Linked DNA regions of Homo sapiens: all the other regions are linked to region 6. The links are contacts of gene promoters, found by promoter capture Hi-C in blood cells and fetal thymus (Javierre and others, 2016). All regions are on one chromosome and are shown on one strand. Each heading gives the region's core, a stretch centred on a gene start or on the middle of the fragment in contact. The rest is flanking DNA. Distances are from core to core; before and after follow the strand shown.

What was found. Contacts are between HindIII fragments. The CHiCAGO score rates a contact against its expected background, and 5 or more counts as called.
Region 1: a contact is called between a fragment that was not itself captured here and the fragment with the promoter of HDAC4 in region 6, in 3 of 17 cell types (M0 macrophages, M1 macrophages and M2 macrophages). The highest score is 10.6, in M0 macrophages.
Region 2: a contact is called between a fragment that was not itself captured here and the fragment with the promoter of HDAC4 in region 6, in 4 of 17 cell types (M2 macrophages, fetal thymus, M0 macrophages and 1 more). The highest score is 7.6, in M2 macrophages.
Region 3: a contact is called between a fragment that was not itself captured here and the fragment with the promoter of HDAC4 in region 6, in 1 of 17 cell types (M0 macrophages). The highest score is 5.9, in M0 macrophages.
Region 4: a contact is called between a fragment that was not itself captured here and the fragment with the promoter of HDAC4 in region 6, in 1 of 17 cell types (M0 macrophages). The highest score is 7.5, in M0 macrophages.
Region 5: a fragment that was not itself captured here is called in contact with the fragment with the promoter of HDAC4 in region 6 in 2 of 17 cell types (M0 macrophages and M2 macrophages); the score reaches 8.0 in M0 macrophages.
Region 7: a contact is called between a fragment that was not itself captured here and the fragment with the promoter of HDAC4 in region 6, in 1 of 17 cell types (M1 macrophages). The highest score is 5.1, in M1 macrophages.

What each region holds. Positions count from the first base shown.
Region 1 is chr2:239,831,028-239,834,078 of GRCh38, forward strand. No RefSeq gene overlaps it. Among named protein-coding and RNA genes, the nearest start is that of MIR4786, 110 kb to the right of the region's middle. RefSeq lists an enhancer at 342-857. The HindIII fragment of the contact is 5,213 bases long and covers 1-3,051 here.
Region 2 is chr2:239,895,139-239,897,989 of GRCh38, forward strand. It overlaps a transcript of NDUFA10 not described here. Among named protein-coding and RNA genes, the nearest start is that of MIR4786, 47 kb to the right of the region's middle. RefSeq lists enhancers at 755-1,255, 1,256-1,756. The HindIII fragment of the contact is 7,976 bases long and covers 1-2,851 here.
Region 3 is chr2:239,763,113-239,766,232 of GRCh38, forward strand. The region is part of intron 1 of LOC150935 (a long non-coding RNA gene); the gene reads left to right. Among named protein-coding and RNA genes, the nearest start is that of MIR4786, 180 kb to the right of the region's middle. The HindIII fragment of the contact is 3,440 bases long and covers 25-3,120 here.
Region 4 is chr2:239,744,744-239,747,853 of GRCh38, forward strand. No RefSeq gene overlaps it. Among named protein-coding and RNA genes, the nearest start is that of LINC02991, 170 kb to the left of the region's middle. RefSeq lists enhancers at 1,492-2,691, 2,590-3,110. The HindIII fragment of the contact is 930 bases long and covers 1,012-1,941 here.
Region 5 is chr2:239,786,571-239,789,536 of GRCh38, forward strand. All of the region lies in intron 2 of LOC150935 (a long non-coding RNA gene), which reads left to right. Among named protein-coding and RNA genes, the nearest start is that of MIR4786, 160 kb to the right of the region's middle. The HindIII fragment of the contact is 5,294 bases long and covers 1-2,966 here.
Region 6 is chr2:239,399,722-239,402,513 of GRCh38, forward strand. HDAC4 (histone deacetylase 4) reads right to left here and starts at 1,299. Exons shown (of 27, transcript NM_001378414.1): 1 at 1,257-1,299. It overlaps HDAC4-AS1 (HDAC4 antisense RNA 1), which reads left to right and starts at 1,715. Exons shown (of 2, transcript NR_135575.1): 1 at 1,715-1,815; 2 at 2,354-2,636. RefSeq lists silencers at 948-1,117, 1,128-1,567, 1,588-1,707, 1,978-2,247 and an enhancer at 2,378-2,507. The HindIII fragment of the contact is 12,493 bases long and covers 1-2,792 here.
Region 7 is chr2:239,851,210-239,854,104 of GRCh38, forward strand. No RefSeq gene overlaps it. Among named protein-coding and RNA genes, the nearest start is that of MIR4786, 90 kb to the right of the region's middle. The HindIII fragment of the contact is 7,455 bases long and covers 1-2,895 here.

The DNA of each region.
Region 1 (3,051 bases), core at 204-2,703, 430 kb after region 6:
AGCTGCAGGGTACCCTGTGCTGGGCCCTGGCCAGCCCTTCTTGCGTCCCTCAGCAGCGTTTGCTAGAACAGAGCTGCTGGCCTAATGAGTTTCAGGATGTTTATCTCTCACACCACGGAGCATATATTCCTGAGTGTGTGTTTAAATCCACACATTCCAAAGGGCAACCAGGGATGTTTATCCAAGGCTCACTCTCCTCAAACCATTGTTTTATGCCTCCCTGTTTTCCAAGCCATTTCCTATTTTCCTGCTGATATCATGAAAACATAAAATTTTTCCGCACACGCTAAGTGCCTAGAATGGCAGCCAGCTGGTCTAAAGCTGGAAAGGGCCATGAGAGGATCAATGGCCCACAGGAAATGGGCGAGGAGGGCTCCTCGATGGCTGCTGCGGCTGACAATAGGCTCTGCACATGCTCTGTGACACATGCCCCCTGGGGGCCCTAAGAAACCAGCTGCTGACCCTTCCGGGCTGGGAGGAATGTGGGGAAAGTGTAAACCGGGGGATGAGAGATAATGGCCTGGCCCCATGAGCCCAGCCCTCCTGGCCAGCTTTGCAGAACAGCCCGGAGGGCTCACATGCTGACTGCAGGCCTCCCTGCTCCCTCAAGGGAACTTTCCCTCCGAGACGGAGCCTCTGGGCTGGGGGTGGTGCACGCCTCCCTGCAGGTATTAGCGGATGCAGATACTGACTGGTGGCCTCGGTGGGAGGCGCTGCTGTTCTGCAAACTCCCAGTGAGGGTGACGTGGCTGGTCTTGGGGGGGTCACGGGCTGCTCGGTTATCCTTAGTGAAAACAGTCACTCCAGGCACAAAGCTCTGTCACATATAAACTATCATCCCATGAGGGAAGCAGAGAATTCTCCATATTGCAATTTGAGAAAATGAATAGGGAAGTAAGTAACTGTGGAAATTCACAAACCAGGTCATTTATTCACTCAACAAATATCTCTTGAGCCCTGCTGATATGGTTTGGCTGTGTTCCCACTCAAATCTCATCTTGAATTCCCACATGTTGTGGGAGGGACCCAGTAGAAGGTAATTGAGTCATGGGGATGGGTCTTTCCCATGCTGTCCTCATGACAGTGAATAAGTCTCATGAGATCTGATAGTTTTAAAAAGGGGAGTGAATAAGTCTCATGAGATCTGATCATTTTGAAAAGGGGAGCACAAGCTCTTTCTGTTTGCCTGCTGCCATCCATGTGAGACATGATTTGCTCCTCCTTGCCTTTCACCGTGATTGTGAGGCCTCCCCAGCCATGTGGAAGAGTAAGTCCATTAAACCTTTTTCCTGTACAGCCAGGCCCGGTGGCTCATGCCTGTAATCTCGGCATCTTGGGAGGCTGACGCAGGTGGATCACTTGAGGTCAGGAGTTCAGAGTGTGTGCAATAACATATCAGAAGCAAGTCAAAGGAAATCAGGTCTCTGACAAGCAAGCATAAAAATTAAAAAAAAAAAAAAAAGACAGAGAAAGGAAAACCAGGAGGCCAGACTAGCACCCCACGGTTCAGTGAGATGCACTGGGAAGGGAAGGTCTTCGCTTTCCATTGTTTTCATCACAGAAGCGTAACGCTTGGTGCACACTTGGTAAATAACTAGCATATGGTATCACCAAGTCTGACATGTGTGTGCAAAGCCAGGGAGCCTCAGATGGGAAGCACCCCTGTGATTCCGGGACAGGATCGTCAAAGGAAAGGGAAGGAAGGGGCCTCGTGTTACCCTGGGGCAGGGGCAGGGGCATCCTGAGACGCCCAGGGCAGGGAGGCCGGCAGGACCCAGGAGAGCCTGCAGGAGTGAGTGGGGAACCCCACACATTTGCTGCTGCTCTCCCTGCCTCTGCTGTAAGTCAAGGTCGTCTGCAAACCAGCCACTCAGTGCCCAGGAGCCTGGCAGTCCCTTGCTAGTGCTCTCCTCCGGGGAGACAGCCTCAGGCTAGTACAGGACAGATTCCCTGTGTCCTGTGGTTGGCCTGGGATGGGAGGATCCCAGAGTTACTGGGTGGCTTTCTCTGCCTTTAGCTACAACAGGAGGAACATCAGAGCATTGACCTTGGTGTTAAACTGGGGAGGAGAGAATAAGATGGAGCAGCCCGGGCAGTTGGCCCCTCTGAAAGGCACCAGCCTCATCGAAGTTCTTCCAGTTCCGAGGAAAGCGGGAGTACGGAGGGTCACCAGCTCCACCCAGGTCCACGGCGAGTTAGTACAGCCACGGAGGAGAGAGTGGGGAATCCACAGCAGATCATGGGCTCCAGGGCTGAGGGACACCCAGGTAAGCACACCCAGAAGAGGGCACAGATTGGGAGCAGGCACACGGGGAGGATCCAGCTGGTGGCAGCCCCTGGAGAGGAGGCTCCCGGAGGAACATGGCTGAGAGCTTTGTCAGGAAGAGAGGAAGGTGAGGGGCCTCACGGGGGACATGGAGAATGGGGCCAGGGACAATGGCAGCAGAGGAGCAAACGAGAAAGGCCATCCCCATCGAGCAGAGCCGGGAGGGTTGGCAACACGAAAGTCCAGGGAGAGATGGCCCTGGGCGAAGAGAGTAAATGAGCAGAGGTGGAGGCAGTGGACAGACCCCAGCCCTTCCGGGAAGCTGGAGATGAAGATGCTGTGGGTATCATAGTGTCTGCCCCACCCATGGCTGTCCCTGGCCGGCAGAGGGGCAGCAATGAGCAGGCCATGCTCCCAGGTGGCTTGGGGCAGCTAAGATCTGTGGTCATGCGTGTGGGTGCCTGTGAAGAAGGGGAAGAGGGGGAGGAGGTGGGTTGGGGAAGGGAAGGGCAGAGACACCATACGCCTAGGCTGGTTGCTCGGAAATCGAGTTCTCCTCCACCCTGGGAGGGACATGGTGCCAGGACCATCAACCCCACCAAGGAGATGGCAGGACCAGTCCTTCTCTCCCTCCTTCCCTCCCTACCGCAGAGGAAGTGACAGTGCTGGTCATGGCAGGCCAGTGGGCCCCCCGTAGAGCCCGAGTCAGACTCCGATGGCCGCTGTCCACTATGTGGGCACTCAGGACATCAGAAAACAGGTGGCCATCTGCAGAGTATTTCAGA
Region 2 (2,851 bases), core at 75-2,574, 500 kb after region 6:
GACCCAGTCCACGTCACATCCTCCCTCTCCAGGATGCCTGCCAGGCCTCTGCCCCAACTCACTTACCTATTCCCAGGCACTTAGGAGTCTTCTCCACACACAGACCATTCTGAGAACAGGGAGCCCAGTGGAGAACTGAGTAGGCTGACCCATCTGTGCTCCTGGTCTGCTGGGACCTAGAGACGAAGAGGACAGTGACCACAGAGCATATGAGTGAGGAGGGGAGCCCGAGCTCTGTGCAGGTGTAGGTGGGGCTTTACTCCACACTCATAGGTTCTGAAGCCAGGGCAGCAACTTCAAAAGTGATAGGTTAGGGGAGAAACTATAAAATGAAAACACACAGTCCCTTGTTCACAAAACAGGGAAAACTGCTCTTAACAGTGTTAAAAAACAAAACTTTTCCTTTTCCTCTGTTCTCTCTAATAATTTACCATTGTTATTTGCTACTTAAGGTCATCCTAAGTAAAGAAAATTTCAATTTTTATGTTTTAGCTGAATGTTACTGTTCATTTTATATTGTGCAATGTCAGTTTTAAATACAAATATAAAAGCATTAGATCCCCATGCAGAAACACAGAGATTACACGATTCCTATTTTGTAGCTCACATATGTATGTATATTTAATTTTTACCTTAACAGTGGAAGTGCTGTGCAAAACTAAACCAAGGGTTTTGATTTCACTTCTCGATACTGGCCGTGCTACTGCCTTCTTGACACTGCCTGCAGCTTACTGGTGAAAATGGAAGAACTGAAAGAAGGAACTGTGGCTTTTCCCGTCTTCTTTCCGTCCATGCATTGTTTTCAGTGTAAGTGCTTGGCTAATACACGAAAGTAGAATAAGTAAGAAAAAGTACAATAGGGTCTTTGGTTGTTGGTGTTATTCACAAGGCCACTGCCTTCTTTCTACATTTGAAGTGGACTCATGTGGAAGGTGTGGCTTTCCCACAGACTCAGTGGCAAACACACACAGTGACCTGTTCCTGGCCTCGAGTCCTGCTGGTCTCCCGTGCATCCTAGGGTCACTGGAATTCTGTGCTCACTGTGTCACCAATGCCGCGTGTGAATGGAGAGGCAAGGAATGGCAGACGTGCATATCATGCAAATCTCCTGTGCTCCTGCCCCTGCTGTGCAGTGCTTCCAAAACACAAGTTCAAAGGCAAAGGTATCAAGATTCAGGGCAGACCTGGCCGAGCATTAAGCCCAGCACAGAGCCCTTCTTAAGTGCAAGGCCCCATGAGATTGCACGCCTGTGAAGCTGGCAGTACCCTCGTCTTAACTGCAATTGACAGGAAATTCAAGGGTAGAGGAGCATGTTAAACACCACCACAAGGACACAGCAAATCCAGGGTTGGGGGCACTGCAGCCAATGACCCAGACACTGCAACCAGCCAGTGGGGCCACGGAAGGGAGGAAAGAGGCTGAAACAGGTTCCATCATCGGAAATGCCAACTTGTTTGGCTCCTAATTCAAACAAACCAACTGTAAAAACACATTTCTGGATAATTAGGGAAACTTGGATATGAACTTGTATTTGATGCTATAGAGGTAAAGGAAGTCTTCTTAGTTTAGAGTGAAGGATAGTCATATGTGTCGTGGTTACGTGGGGAAAATGCCCGATCCGTGAAAGATGCAGACCAAGTCATCTGCAAGTCAAACAACAAGATGTTTGGGATTTGATGTATTTTAGAAAAAAACAGCAGGGGAATAGTTGGCACAAGATTGGCAAAATATTGAAAATGTTTGAATCTCAGAGGTTCATCATTTTATTCTACTTTTTAAAAAGTTTTTTAAATGTTCTATAACAGAAAGAAGGAAAATAACATATGTATGTGTGTATGTGTGTGTACTTATTATGTATTCCTTAAACAAATCTTTTCTTTTAGTTTATAAGGAATTATATTTTCAACACTGAATTAATTACCTTATTTTGCAATAAATTAGTAAGGAGTTAATGAAGACTGAACTATGATCCACACATGAGAGCTTTGGCATGGAAATCACTTTTTATCTCAACTTCGTATCCCTTCTTTTCATTTCTTCGAGCAATATGGAAAATTTCCCAGCATGTAGGACACACTATAATGTTCTTTCTTGAAGATGTAACTCTATACATTGCAGTAGCTAATTATTCAAGTTTTTATTTAGTAAAAATTCAAGAAAAATCCTATTTTTATTAGAAATTCTATCACTAAAATTATTTGTGATAAATTGATTCTTCCCATGACTCTTTAGGGAAAAAATACATTTTTAGATCATACTTTTTCTTGAAGTGAAAAAAAAAATTAACATGCACGTACCACACACATGTAAATTAGAGACAAGTTTAGACACAGGAGTAGATTGGATTTGCCTAAATATGGCCTCAGATTAATAAAACCAAATGGGGAAAAGCTGACTATTTTTGTTGTTGTTATTGACAAGTGTCTGTTATATTTTGAAAAGCATCCATACTTGATGAAGTGCTGGAGGGCCGAAGAGAGTCCCAGGCTTCCGGATTCCAGGCCGGCAGCTTCCCTCTGAATTCAGTTCCTCTCCTGGGCCCTCCTCCTCCTCCTCTTCTTCTTACCTAACTGCCTGTCCCCAGGCCTAAAGCCACCAAACCCTGCTGTTGGGAGGCCCTGAAGACTGATGGCCGCCCTGGAGGTCACTCAGCCCCCAGAGACTGCAGCACCCAGGCCAGTAGTGGGAGTGAGCCAGGTTCACCCCTCCCTCTGCCATCCCAGCCTCAGCTCCAGAAGCACGCGCATCCCCTGGGGCACACAGCCCCTTCCTGCATCCCTTCAGTTCCTTCCCTTCTGGGATCCCTCTTCCTTTCATCAGCAGGACACTGGGAGAAGGAACCATCCCTAC
Region 3 (3,120 bases), core at 495-2,994, 360 kb after region 6:
GGCCATTTCCATGAGGAAAGGAAAAGCTTTCTCAGATGTCCCTGGCAAACTTCCACTATTTCTCCTTGGTCAGAGCGTGTCACTTGGCAGCTCCTGGCTGTTCCCGTGAGTGGAAGGAGTGCCTCCTCAGCTCACTCCCCCTGCTAACTGCAGCATCTGCAGCTTGCTTCATGCACCTTCTTTCTGCTGAGGTTTTATCCTTCTCCTCCAAGCTGCAAAGAAGGGTCTGGCCTGGAAACCTGAATTCCAGCCACGATTCAGCCCTTAGCTTTGTTTGTGGCTTTGGCCACTTGTCTTTATTCTCTGAGCTGTTATGTTCTTCTATACAAGGGATTCCGTTCCAAGGACTAGCTAAATCATTTGGAAATTTTAAGATTCATGGATAAAAGGAGGCCTGGAAAGAAATGGAAAAGAAGCAGAATTCCATTAGGAATGCCCAGCGGTGAAATTGAGAGTGCAATCCCGCTGGCTGAGGGGCTCCTGGAAAGTGGGGCCTGTCAGGTGACAGAGGTGGAGAGAGGGTGGTGCAACGGGAAGGGCTGCATGGCAGGATGAGAAGGTGGCAGCAATGCCAGCGATCAGACGGGCTCTGCAGATTTTGCCCTTAGAGCAACTAGAATTTCTCTTTGGCTGAAAGATGTTTGTAGTGAGGGAGAATCTGCCCGAGGACACTTCTGCTTGTGTGCGTTTCTTTTAGGCATAACATCAGCTCCCAGGGTGCAGGCAGTGCTTTCTCTCCCTAACATGGAGCAGGTGGCCCTTCCTCTGAGGACGGCCTCAGGCACCATCAGACCCGTCAGAGAATCACAGCCTGGCGCCTGCCAAGCACACCGCCACCTCCTGGAACTTGCAGTTCTTGTCTTACTTACAAATGATACCAAATTCCTGGGCAGCCCCCTGTTCTCCACATTTTCTGGATTTGTGCGGCCTGCTTTGCTTTGTACAATGTTTTTGCACACTGTGTCACTTGCCCTTCATGGCAGCTCCTGTGAAGGGTGAGAGCTTCTTCTGGAGACCCTCTGTGACCTGCCCATCGGGGCCCAGTGAAGGAGCCCCATGGATCCTGGGCACAGAGGGCCTGTTGTCCAGCTCACAAGTCAAGAGGCAAGAAAGGAACTCTGCAGCTCCCTGGCATTCTTCCCAGGTCCCCAGCAAGGTCATCCTAGGTGTGCCAAAGTCAGAGCCCACAGAAGTGACCCCACAGGTAAAGTCTGCAGGTATAGCCACCTGCTCTTTGTGATCTGATTGAGTCCAATGGGGACCTCCTCATACACACACGTCCACTGGAGAACATGGGGCCCTCCTATCCAGAGACAGCTGCAGAAAGGCCTTTAGCAAATAGCATATGAAGTTGAGATGCTTCACCGGTCACTTCTTCCTCCTATGCACTGTACTTCCTTCTTAGATGCCCCAGTTGCTAAAAAAAAAGATCCATCCTGTAGGGTTAGGGAGTACCCAGGTGTGGAAATGAAGGACCCTTGGCCCTTTCCACTGCTGCCTGGGGGCAGAGCAGGCCCTGCCATCAACTCAGGCTGCAGCTGCAGGTGCACACGGAAGAGGCTTGAGGTTCACCGGCCTTTCAAGGGTAGGTGGTAACAGACAAAATCTTAGGCTGTGCGAACGTGAGGGACAAAATACATGGCTGCGTGGAAACTAAGATGATCTCACGATCAGAAAAGGGGTCTCCATGCCATGCAGCGGGGCCCCGAGCATCACATGCCACTCACCCAAGCTGGGAAGAAAGTGCAGTGATTAACCCTTTCCTAGATGAGGAAACTGAGTCTCAGGGATGTGGAGTGGCTCAGGAGAATTCATATGTGAGGTTCAGAGCCAGCAGCCTGGCCTGGGACTTCTGAATTTCAAGGGTTGACCTCTTTGCAGGCTCTAGGCCTGGCCATCCTAAGTGGAGAGTGGGGACGGCTGTTCTTCCTGCCCTCCAGCCTGGTGCTGATTCCCCCGAACTGATCTTTCTCCTCCTGGTGTCCTCTTGCTCACCCCTCCTCACTTCTGCAGGCTCCCCAAGAGTCAGGCAGGGCCACAGGCCCATGGGACTTCACAGCATGCCAGGTAACATTCAGCCTTAGCTCTTGACCTGGCCAAAGGGAGGGAGGCCTCTCGAAAGGGTTCTTCTCTCTAGTGAGAAACAGCTGACCAGCATACCCCACCATCACTGCCATGACGGGAGGACTGCCCAGACATGTCTTCCCAGAGCAACGTGGCCAGCTTCCCCTCTCTCTCCCTTTCTGTCTCTGTCTCTCAGCCCCATTCACCCCAAAAGTGCAGACTGGTGAGCTCAGTGACCGATTGTTGTTATTTCAACCAAGTTCAGGCGTCATGTGTTACACAGCAGTAGATGCTCAGAGCACCTTGTCATCCCCACGTGGCAGATTCAAGTTCCTCTAGCACTTACCGAGTGCCTTCTGCATGCCGATTCAGAGCCTTCACACTCTCTTGCCCAGCAGCCCAGGGCAGTCGGTCTCCTTTGGACACGCAGCCTACCCTCGTGGGCAGGGTCGTTTCACACTGCCGCTCATCTCCTGGGATGTGTTTTCAGAGTGTGTCCTTGCAGGCATCCCCATGGGAAGCAGGTTTGAATGGGGGGTGCACAGGGAGGTACCTGGGGAGACAGGTTGAAGCGTCCGCTCCTAGGGAGCTTTGCTTTATCGTCAAGTGTCCTTGGTTTGGGTGAAGGGACAGGATTTCAAAGCAGCCTTTCCCTCCGTCCTGCTCCCTGCCTCTCAGATGAAGATGGCCTGCCAACTGCTGGCCTCTGTAGGTGACCGTCCCAGGGACAGCCGCACCCCATATGGAGCAGAGAGGCTGGAGGCTGGCGGGCCTGTGAGTACCGTGCCACCGAAACATGTTACTGGTGTCCAGATGTCTCTCTCCCCACACATCCTGGAGCTGTTTGAGGGCAGGGCCGTATCAGAGTTGCCTGTGCACTCTCACACCCAGCGCTGTGCCCTGGGGACCTCGCCAGCACCCAGAACCTTTTGTTGGAGAAGCTGGCGGTCATGGTGATGGGAGGTGGAGAGTGTAGTCTGACTCTGGGCCGTGCTTGAGTCCTCACGTCCATGTGCGCTGTGGCCACCTTAGCACAGAAGCACACCCTGCAATTCT
Region 4 (3,110 bases), core at 227-2,726, 350 kb after region 6:
ACCAATATCTGTATCTATCGCTATACAAACATAAATCTGCACACCTGCTGTGTGTCTGGGGATGTCAGGCACAGGCAGTGCTGTCACTTGGGGGCTTGGCAGAGGCTCTCTGGCCTGGGGCTGTGCAGGGGAGCCTGGAGAGAGTCAGGCTGAGGCTGTGGGACTTGTCACAGGACAAGAACACCCAAGGACTGCAGGGTCACTGTCACAAGGCACATCGGAAGCCTCTCTGACTCGGAGAGGACTTGGAGCATCTCTGCCCTCCCGTGAGGCCCATGAGAGACAGCACTGAGAGTCTGGCCGTCTGGAAGCCAGGACCAGCTCTGCCCGGAAGTCGTAGAGCCAGGTCAGCCTCCGCCTTGCTCCCTGCCTGCGCTGCGCCTTTGCGGCAGCAGCAGCTTAGAGGAGGAAAGGTGGCTCCGAGCACCCTCATGGCTCCCGAGCGCCCGAGCCCAGGGACTTGGGGGACAGCATCGGCGCTGAGTCCTCGAGGCTGGCACCACCAGCTTCCACTTTTACCCTCCGCTCTGAAGCCTGTTGGTGGGCACAGGGTCACTTTCCTGTCCGCGGGCTCTTCACAGTCGGCACATTCAGGGCCGACTTTTTAATGACTGTGCTTTTGGCCACAGCAGTGGTAACAGCAGGGAGTATTTATGGAGCCCCCCTGTCCCTGCACTGTTCCAGGGGCCTCCCACACATGAATACACTTGGTCTGCCCATGCCCCAGAAGGCCTGAGGCCCACCCTGGCAGGGGCTCCCAGCCCCAGCTCCCTGTCTCCTTCCCCCTCCATCCCCTTCCATATTGATCAGGTGTGTCCGTCCTCCAGGTGGTCACACTCCTCAGGGCGCTGGCCCATCCCAGCCCCAGAGCTTCAGTCCGATGGGCTCCGTCATCACTCTCCGGCTGATGGGGGATCAGGCGTGGACTTCAGACCCGATTCTGGATGAGGAGATGTGGGCGTGGGGAGGGGCCAGTCAGAGAAGCCCCAGAAGATCTCCTCATTGTTCCAAAGCTTCAGATACGATTGAGTGAGAATAAGAATGATAGCCGCAATGAATCGTAACACCGCCACTGTGTCTACATCCATGAGTTCATAAGAAAACAAAAAGATAATTGGTCAACTTCGGCTGCAGCTGGAGAACCACCTCATTACTCTGAACACGGATAAGTAAAGGATAAAAATGAAGCCTTTACTGACTTCTCTATGCAAACCGTCCCTCAGGGCAGCTAAGTTGGTATGAAAGGGAAGTTTGTTTTGGTGGGAGTGTTCCAGCTGATAAACACAGGAGCAAGCCTAGAGTTAGGATATTGTTGTTTTGCAGTCCCCGAGGAAGCCATGAACCGAGGCAGCTAATCAGCCGCTGCACACATCCCAGAGAAAGCAGGACCCCGCGTGCCTCCAGATGAAAGCCAGCAGCAGGGTCTAAGCGCAGCCTCCCCAAAATACCCGGCGGAGCCTGTCGACAGCTTTCAGGAATTACAGGGGACAGGGAAAAAGGTTGAATGCCACCCTTGGGATGTATTCAGCAAAACTCAGAAAATGAGAAATGATCCAATTTCTTTAACAACCACCACCACAAAAACAAACAAATAAGTAGTAAAACATTTTAAAAGTTAATGTAAAAACAGATGTGGAAGGAGACCTGCAGGCTAAAACGTATACCCCAACCAATCACAATGCACGGCCCTTAACTGCGTCCTGATTCCAATTGTTTTTAAACCTGTAAAACAAAGGATAGACCATCAGGAAAATGTGAACCCCGATACTGAGGAATGAGTGTGCATTTTCCACAGGTGTGGGGGGCGGGTTGGGGCATGAGGAGAGAGGAGAGGAGGGTGGACAGGCGGAGGGAGCACCACCCACATGCCGAGGTGGGGCCTGGCGCCCATTCTCCGGTTCTCTCCACTTTTGTCCATGTTTGAAATTTGCCATCACAAAAAGCTTCTTTTTTGTTTTGTTGTTTGTTTGTCTAATAGGTCTCCTGGGCAGAGAGCCACTTCCCACTTCCTAGGGCATTGTCCCGGCTGGAGCTGCAGCTGTGGTCTTGCTCTAGTTCTAGGATGAAGCAAAGCCACGGGGGAAGGTGAGGTAGGATGGAGAAAGGACTCGGGGTTCCAGTGCACCCCTGAACCGGCACAGCCTCCCGGCCCTCCTGCTGGGAGTTGGGGGATTGCTTCTAATGGACAATGGATGGACTGTGTCTGATGTCACCCCATACACGTGGAACAGGGCAGCTGTCTTGTGTTCCCAGCCTCTGGTAAGCTCCTTGAGGGCACAGACGCTGTCTGGTTCATCTCTGCACCCCTGACAGTGCCCCGCTGGGTGCCTGGCGCGGTGCCCACTGCTTAGTAGACCCTGGAGTTGTTGGGGAGAAGGCGCTTGGGCCATGGTAGCAGCAGGTGGAGGCTGGGCTTGTGTCCAGTGTTCAGGAAACTCGGAAACCTCCAAATGTGTGACCCCGATGGGATTTTGATTTCTTCCCATCTCTTGAGCCTAAGGCACAATTGTTGGGAACCTCCAAAACCCACTGCTTAGGGAAAAGCCCGCATCCAAATTTCTGCTAAGCAGGAGGGGAAGGTGCCGGGGTGGGTGTGGTCTCGCAGTGCCTGTCCCCTGCTGCTCTGGCTTGCTGCCCTCATCCCTGTGGCCGCTTCTTCCCCAGCATCCTCAACAGCACGTGTGCTCACAGCCCGGACCCCGCCCTGATGGTCTGACTGCACGGCTCCCGCGTCCTGACTTCCTCCCACTCTCCCCTTGTGCGGAGCACCTCTGCCCACGCCCAGTGCCCGGTGCTTGCCCACAGCGGAAGCCCCGCCCTGGAGCTCACCACACCCCAGCCCTGACCCTACAGCAGCCCCCACCAGTGAGTTCTGCCATTAGAGTCAGAATGTCTCTTCCCTCTCGTGTGACAGGTTTGCATGCTACTCAGAATTTAGTTCTCCAAGGACCCCTGAATCACAGTCAGGGCCAGGCCCAGAGCAGGCCCAAAGCTGAAGAAGGTGCTCACCCTCAGGGCTCTCAGAGACAAGGGGGAAGAGTCCGGGGGGCTTTTGAGAGGCACCAAGTTCAAGTCTGTGTCGCCCACGCAAGGCTCCTTCTCTCTCCAAC
Region 5 (2,966 bases), core at 442-2,941, 390 kb after region 6:
CTTACTGCAATCTCTAGGCAACATCTAAAAGAAAAATACAAAAATGCACATTTAAATGTCCAACAAAATTCAATAACTACAATAGCACTTTATTAATTAAAAAAAGGAAGAGAACAAAACAGATGGGACAAATGGAAAGCAAATAGTTAGACTTTATTGGTAATTGTGTTAAATGTAAATGGAATAAAATTAAAGAAGAAATCGAACACATTAACTTGGTGAAAGCTCTAGCCATGTATGAGCTTTAATTTTCAAATTGTATGGCTTTGCTTTAGTATATCTCAATTTGTGGGAAAAATCTTTCGAGGGAGCACCTATTTTTAATTGGATAAATTTATACTCTGTACCAGAATGGAATTAAATTGAGAAGTCTTACAGTTTTGCATGATCTAAATATGGTGAGAGATTCAAAAGAACCATAAATAGACACAATTTATTTGACAAGTTTTATCCTATCTTTGCCAAAAAAAATGTACTCTGAATGGAGGCATAAAGATAGTATCTATGGAAACATTTGGCCTGAAATATTTACACACTTATATATGAGAAATAGAATTAAGATTATCCTCCACTTAGCAGAAATTCTGCTGCACTTACTTGATACCTCAGCACGGTTAGAGAGAATGTTTTCTCTAACATACGATGGGCAGCAGAGAAGAGTCCATTGAAGGTGTCTATCATTTTAAATTTATTAATGATAAAGCAAAAATTTAAAGAAGATTGTAATTTTATGAAGAGATTAAAAAGATGAGAGATAAACTATGAATTTCATGAAAAGAGAAATGGCTAAGTAGCAGATTCAAATATAGTATATGAATATATATCAAGAATAATCTGTTTGGCTATTTTTTCAGTGTTCAGATATCCAATATAAAGATTATTTTGCTTTGATGAACATGAAAATACATTATTTTTAATAGGAATGTTATTTTTGAAATTTATTTATTCACGGAGCTATTTTATGGATTCAGTAATGTAATGTAATCAATTTGCTGGTTAATAAATACATATTTCAAACATTACATATTTTTATCATTTCTACTGTCCTCTTTACGCTGAGGACTGTCCTGTTTGAACAGTGGTTACTGTGCCTTATGTCCCTGGAGACCCAGCAACCAAAGCTCCATGGGCCACTGGAATGGCAGAGGCAGATGTAGATGAGCTGACCTCATCTACATCTACACGGGCAGTGTCACCATGGCGAGGCTGCCCATCTCAGCCACAGCACCACGTCATTAGAAAAAGCAATTAGAAATGAAGTCAGGGTGACTGAGGCAGGTCTGCCCCATGCACATCGGCAGGCTGGAATAAGATCCCTTCTTGGAAAGCTCTGGTCATGATGCAGGATTGCACCCACTCCAGCCCCCAAGAGTGTTTCTGCAATTGGAAAGGCCAGTGTGGCCAGGCAGGATGACAGGGTGTCATGAAGGTTGCTGCGGTTGCAGCCAGAAAGCACCACAGTGACATATGGGATCTTGCCTGTAAGCTCTACAAGATTTACTAGATCTTGTTTCTTTATTATCAAAACCCAGCACCTCAAGGTATTTATAAAGAAGGCAAGTCAAAGGTAAAGAGATGCATTACCAAGAATCTGTGATTCCAGAGGTCAAAGTTCATCTTATCACTCACAAGTTCCTCTATTATTTGAAAAGGTTACTCACCCTACTTGGAATATCAAGCAGCAGTTGATTGGGTTTACAGCATTTTCTACCTTTACCCTTTGCAAACTGTCTGGATGCAAATGTCAAGATTGAAATGCCCAATAACTTGGATCTCTGGATCCAACAAACAAGAACGTAGTGCGATATTTTTAAATTCTGACTTGAATTAAAGTGATGGATGGGTCCTCTTAGCATGAACATGTGGTTATCCTTTCTCCCTTCACTTTCCCTTTCTAATAAATATCTCCAGCGTTGGGGAAGAGGAAAAACACCTTGATATTACCTACTGCTCCCATGAGTAGTCATTGGCTATGCTAGCTTGTATTTATTCTATATCAACAGAGCCACTGTTGTTAAAAATAGCCTGAGGAAATCAGTTAAGATCTAAGCATTCACGTGACTGAAAAGCCAAGGATCAGGCCATCGAGCTACTTTAATTTAGTTGCTGTGCTTGAATTTTCATGTTGTAAAAGTGTTATTGGTAGGTTGGTTCAGGTTCTTGAGTTTGTCACAAAAAGAATTTGAGAGCAAGTTCAAAGTAAGAGTAGGCAAAGAAGTTTATTGCAAAGCAAAGGTACACTCTGAGAGGCAGGGTGGACCTCTCAAAGGGAGAGACAGCAGCCAGTGCCTTAAGAGGAATTCCCCTTATGGGAGCTGTGTATGAATATTCATAAAACACTGGTGAGGTCAGGTGTGCAAAGGCGGACCTGCGGCTAGCGCATGTGCTCAGAATCTACATGATCTAACACGTATTCCATGCATAATTAGCATATGAAATCTCCACCTGTGGATGTGTTTGGACTACTAAAATGAAGAAAAGGTCACTATAAGCTAAACCTTGAGCCTAGCACATGAGGGACCCTGGAGAAGTCCCTGGCCACCCCCCACAAGGCAAGAATTTATAGCTAATAGCTTCTTGGGCTTTTGGTGGTGATTGGCTGGAGATTGAGGAAGCTACATCAGGAAAAAGGGGTTTTGTTCTCTTTCCTGGGCCAGGGATCAGGAACAGGTAACCATCTGGCAGGCGGCTGGTATCCTGCAAGAGCGCTTACCTTGCAAAAGAGTCAGGTGCTGATGCATGAAGGTGCAGGGAAGAGTCTTCCAGGCTTCCCACAGGGAGACCCGTCAGTATGGCCTCCTACCCTTACTCCTGCCTCATTAGTCGTGTTGGGAATTTAACCCCACAGGGTTCCTGCTGAAACCACTTGAGGCTAGATCTCTGTGTCCTCAGTGCCTAGGGACACGGACGTTGGAGGGAATACTTGATGTCCAGCACGAGGATGGCCTCAGGAGAGCAGGATTACC
Region 6 (2,792 bases), core at 49-2,548:
TGCACAGGCCCTTTCCTCCCTCACGGAGAGCAAGCAGAACTGCTCTCAGCAAGCAATTAGGTAGGTCTCTACAGTCATGCAATTAGGATTTAGTGAAGAAAGTCATTAGTTTTAAAATAACTTAAGTTTAATTTCTGCAACGCTTTATTTGAAAACTGTGTCACAGCAGGTCAATTTACAACATGCAATAAAGAAAACACTCATATCAGCTGCCTCAAGTTATTACAAATTTTTGATGTGCATTAAATGAGTACACTGGGTTCCACCCCCGGCCTTTCCAACTGATACGCACGGTCTCCTCCTATAACAGTGTCAAATAATTCAACGCTCAATGTAAATACGAGATAATTTGCTTATGATTCCGTGGTGTGTTTTCGCAACGCCGGCAAACGCGGATCCCACCCCCGAGCGGGACCGGGCCCCGTCTCGGCCTGCTGGCGCCCTGCGGGCTGAGCCGAGCGGGTCCCGGGCAGCCCCCCGCCCTCCCGCGACCCCCCGGGCGCTCGCAGCGGCGACGACAAGCGCGGGGCCGCGGACCCCCGGCAGGGACGTTTTTCTGCAAACTCACAGCATTTGACAAAGTTACATAAACGGCGCCCGGCCGGCCCCGGCGCCCGCCCGCCCCCGCCCTCACTCCCGGCGGCCCGGAGCCCACCTGCTCGGGGGGCGCGGGCCCCGCACCGGGAGACGGCGCCGCTGCCTGCCGTGCCCACCCCCGCGCCCCCGCCCCGGCGGGCGAAGCCGCCTCGCGGCGCGGGTGGAAAGGTCCAGAAGGGGCCGGGCGGCCCTGGGGACCGGCGGGTCCCACGGCGCGCGGCCAGCGCTGGCCCCCGCCTCCCACGGCCGCGCGCGGGGCGGGTGTGGACCGGCGGCGTCCACCTGCCGCGGGCTCCAAGGCCTGCAGGCTGCGCGGGGCGCGGGGCGGGCGGCGGACAATGGCCCGCGGGCGCCGGGCCGGGGCTGCGCTTACCGCGGCGGGCGGCGGCGGCCGGCTCTAGCCCTGCTCCGGCGCTCCGCGCCGCATCTCCTCAGCCTGCGCCGCCACCCGCCGGCGCGCGGGCTCGGGCTCGGGCGGCGACAGCCGGGACGCGGCCACGGCGCCGCCGGGGGCCCAGGCTGGGAGGCTGTTCGGGCGGCGGCGGCGGCGGCGCGGGCGGGTGCGCGGGCTCGGGCTCGGGCTCGGGCGGCGGCGGGGACGGTGCTCCGCGGCGGCGGCCCCACAACCTCCCCTCCTCATTCACAAAAAATTGACCCACGTTGAACCATGATGCTTCTCCCCACTCCAGCGTCGAGCCAGGCGGCGATAGGCCACCCCGCACGCCCGTCAGCCGGCCCGGCCCCGCCCAGCCAGCCGGCGGCTCGCCAACCATTGGCTGCGGCAGCCTTGCGTCACCTCCCCTTGCGGGCCCCGCCCTCCCGCCTGGTTTCTAATGAAGAGCTCGTCAATTACGGCTCGGCCCCGCCTCCCGCCCGCCCGCCCCGGGCGCCTGGCCGGCCTTCCATTGGCCCGCTGAAACCTGCGCACAGCCCGTCTGCTCCCACCCCTCGCCCAGCGGCTGCTCAACCGCGGGGCCGGATGCCCTATGAGCGGCAGAGAGGCTCCACCCCTGCCCGCCTCCCCGCACGCGTCCTGGACCTCATTGGCTGCTGGAGCTGCCAATTCTAGAGGGTGGGGCGTACCAAAAGACGCTCCAGGCGCCAGCCGCTGGGTGCTTCGCGGTTGAGGAGGCGCAGGGACCGGGGGCCAGTAGTGGCCGTAAACACGGGCCCCGGCCGTGTCCGGTCGCACTCGGTAGCCCGCATGGCTGCCTAGCGGTCAGCACCGCATGTCTGCGAGCCTAATTCGCGCTTAGAGGGCACACAATGGGGTGCAGGCTAACGCGGGGAGCCGGCCAGGCCTCGCCGCGGCGTCCATCTTGGATACTGGCAGTGGGTCACGTGGTGCTGCGTGCGCACGGAGGCGCAGGGCGGCCCGGTCACTGAGTGCGCAGGCGCCGTGGGCCTCGCCCTGCCCCGCGGCGGGAACGCGGCCGTGAGGGTGTGGGGTGTAGGTCCGCCAGGCCTGCAACGGCTGCCGAGGGTCGTGGGATGCGCTCGCCGCGTCCCTGCTCAGGCGGAGGGAGCCCGGCCCGCCGCCAGGGTCTCGAGTCCGGGTCCAGGCAGGCGTGGAGGTGGCGGGAACGGCGCACCGCCCGGGTGGGCGTTGTTTTAAGGCCGCAGGGCTTGGGAGGCTTGTGTTGAGTTACAGGTCGGCCCGTAGATCCCCGGAAGCGCCTTTGGTTGCCAGCAGGTGTCGGCGAGGGTCTTCAGTGGCCACCCTCCTGGTGGTGATGTTTCCGTTTCTTTCCAACAGGAGTATGACAACTTTTCAACTTGAGTGCACACACTGTCCCCGGAATCCCGCGTTCCAGGGAGGAAGCGCCTTTGACAGCGCGCGCCGGTTCGTGGGGCCCGACGGCGTGGGCCTGTGGTTGCGGACCTGGCGGAGATGCGCGTTCGCTTCGATTGTAGGCCATTCCTTTTAGGAGCTGAGAAAGGATCCGTTTTTACAGCATTCTCGACCTGTGATTCTTGGTGGGGGAAACTAGTTATGTGGATAAAAATACAGTTAGCAAAATAAAAATGCCAATTTTACATTTCCTTAAATATCTCATTAATAATTAGAAAACTTTGGTCATTGCAAGAAATGCTTAGGCTAAACTTAGAAGGAAAGGAATGGTGAATTAGAGAACTTTAAAACAAGATACAGCTGAAGAAAAGGAGAGCAATTACGGGGTTTTGGAGACTTGGCT
Region 7 (2,895 bases), core at 315-2,814, 450 kb after region 6:
TTGATTTGTCTGTGTTCCCTTGTAGCTCACTGAGTTTCCTTAAGATCACTATTTTACATTCTTTTTAAGCATTTCACAAATGTCCTTATCTTTGGAGTCTGCTAATGGAGATTTATTGTGTTCCTTTGGGGGTGCCATGCTTTCTTGCTTTTTCATGTTTCTACATTGATATTTGTGCATCTAGTGGAATAGCCACTTTTTCCAATTTTATGGAGTAGGTTTCATAGGGAAAGACATTTTCCTGTAGATATGTCCTAGGATGTTGGCTTTGGTTCTGGGTGGACTCAGTAGTGCAGCTGTCATATAGTTTCCTCATATCATATAATAATCTTCATCATCAAGGTCTGTGATTGCCTCAGTGGTGTAGGGTATGGGAGTTTGTGATGGTAGTGGTGTGGTTTTGCTGGGGGAGGGAGTGCTGAGCTGGTTGTTGGGCTGGGCACATACGGATATGGAGGGCCAAAAAGCTGTCCATTGGGTTCTCTGGAAGCAAGAAAAGGTGAATTAAATGCAAGACTCAGGCATGCGTGGGCATGGCTGGCCAGGAAACTGTGTATGTACTGTCTCTTTAGGGAAACAGGGCTGCTGGTGGACTGGATATTGGGACAGGTACATGTGGATGCAGTAGGGCTAGGTGGCTTTATAGCAATCTACCCAGCAGGGCAAGGTCATCACAGGGCTGGCTGTTGATCTATGCAGAGACATGCATAAGCTCAGAGGGCTGACTGGCTAAGCATTTCAGGTGCATGTAGGTGAGGTGACCAGCCAGCTGTTGGGTGACTGCTCTGCTGTGCAGGCCCACCTGTTCCCTGGGTGGGGGGGTGGTGGGGATGGTGTGCCACATGGGTTCAGATGCTGGGTGGGGTCTCAGGTGTTCTGTCTGGGCTAGGCTCTGGGAAGTTGGGTTCAAGGTACTGCAGGCACCTGTGTGAACATGGTAGTGACAGTAGGGCCTGAAGGATGGATATAGTTGGTTGCTACTCATCCCCAGGACAGGGCATACCCTATTAGTAGGTTCAGTTTCAAAATGGTGTTGAGTTGCAGCAGCTTAGGTAACAGGGTTGGGGGCACTCAGTTCAGGCTCCTACTCAGGTAATATAACTGCAACAAGTCCCAGCTACTCTCCAAACTGGATTTGGGGCCTGTGAGGACTGGGGGCCCTTCCCGTAGCAAGGATTGCTGGTGTTTGTGAAAGCAATGAGGAGTGCTGTGGATCTCCATTACCCGTAAGAAGAAATCGGCCCTGACTCTGAGCCAGTCCTGGGCGGGGGACACAGTGTGGCAGAAGCAGGATGCCTTGCTCTCGTCTTTACGGTGCTATCCTGGGCTTCTGTGCTCCACAGACTGTGCCACGGCCCTGGTGCTCTCCAGTGTACATCCTCAGTCATGCTGGTTGAAATACAGTTGCTTATTTGTTGTTTTGGTACTTTTTGTGTGTGTTGTGGGGCAGGGGATGCTGCAGGTAACTCTGATCAGCCATCTTGCTGACATCCTCTGAAAACTCTTTTTTTTCTATTACATTTTTGCGATTTTGATTAGATTTGCATTGATTTTATAAGTTAATTTGGGGTGAACTGATACGTTTACAACAAGGAGTCTTTCCCTCCTATGACATGGCATCCTTCTCGATTTTTTCTTGTCCTCTTGTCTGTCAGGAAATCTGTATGACTTTCTCCATAAAACAATTCTCAGGCATGTTTCTAAGGACATATTTTTGTAGGGATTTGAAACACAATCTGTTTTTGTACTATAATTTTTTAATTGATGTCTACTGGTGCATAGGCAAGATTTGGATTTTCACACAGAGAGCTCATGTCAGCTACACCGCTGAACTCTGATTAATTTCATATTTGTCAAACAATTAGCACAAACACTTTTGAAAAATAAAATCTGATTGGGAATCCCAGTAGCAAAATGGATAAAAGTGTCAAGCAGGCCTCTCATGCTGCCTTACTTTCTTCACCATCCGGCTGAGGAACAGGCCATTCCTTGCTGACCCAGCTCCTTCCAGCTCAGTATGAGGATGAGAATCCTGCAGCCTCCTCCCCTGATCAGGCGGAGCCTGGCTCCACCTGGGGAGAGTCTGGGACCTCGGCACCTGCAGATCAGAGGCCCTCCCGCTCCAGTCCACCAGCACACAGGGAAGGGAAGGGAGACCCGGGGAAGCCACGTGCCTTCCCCATGTTGCCCAGCGGTTAAAAAGGGCGCAGGGACTACCCAGGGACTTTGGCTTCCAGGCATGACACAACCTTGCCTTCCAGGCTGGTCTCACTTATAGGCATCCCTGTCAACCAAGAACATTCTGTTCAGAAAAAGTTATTTTTTCCTACTTTTTTGGTCCTGAAAATTAATGTGGTCTCTTTTCTGATTTTTACCTCGGGCTCTCCTTCATCTAAGAATCAAACCAGAGCTAGATTCCCAACTGTCTATCAATCTAGTCTGATTTTTCCCTTGAAGAAGAGAGGTCCTTTCGCACAAGTTGCTCTTTGATCTTATGATAATTTTACCATTTTCCATGACTAGATGTCCCCGTTCTGAACAGGCTCTGGGTGGCAAAAGGGATCTTAGGTTCCCTTGACAACCTAAGCCCATACTGATCCCATTGAGTTTGATGTCAACTACACTGGTACCCGAGCAAAATGTCCTGCTGTGTTAGGCTCACAGCTGGCTCTGTTTCCCTTGCCTTGAAAAGGAAATTGGCAAAGGAAGTACAAGGCTGACAGTTTTATTCCAGTGTACATGAAAAACGTTTACTTGCAGCCTTCCACTGCCCTGGTGTTTTGTCACCAGACCTGAGGCCATTTCTCCACCTCCTCCTGCTGTTTGGCCTGTGAGCTGGGACCCCTCCAAGGTGCAGGTGCATCCAGTATTAGAGAAGCCAGGCATGTGTGTGCA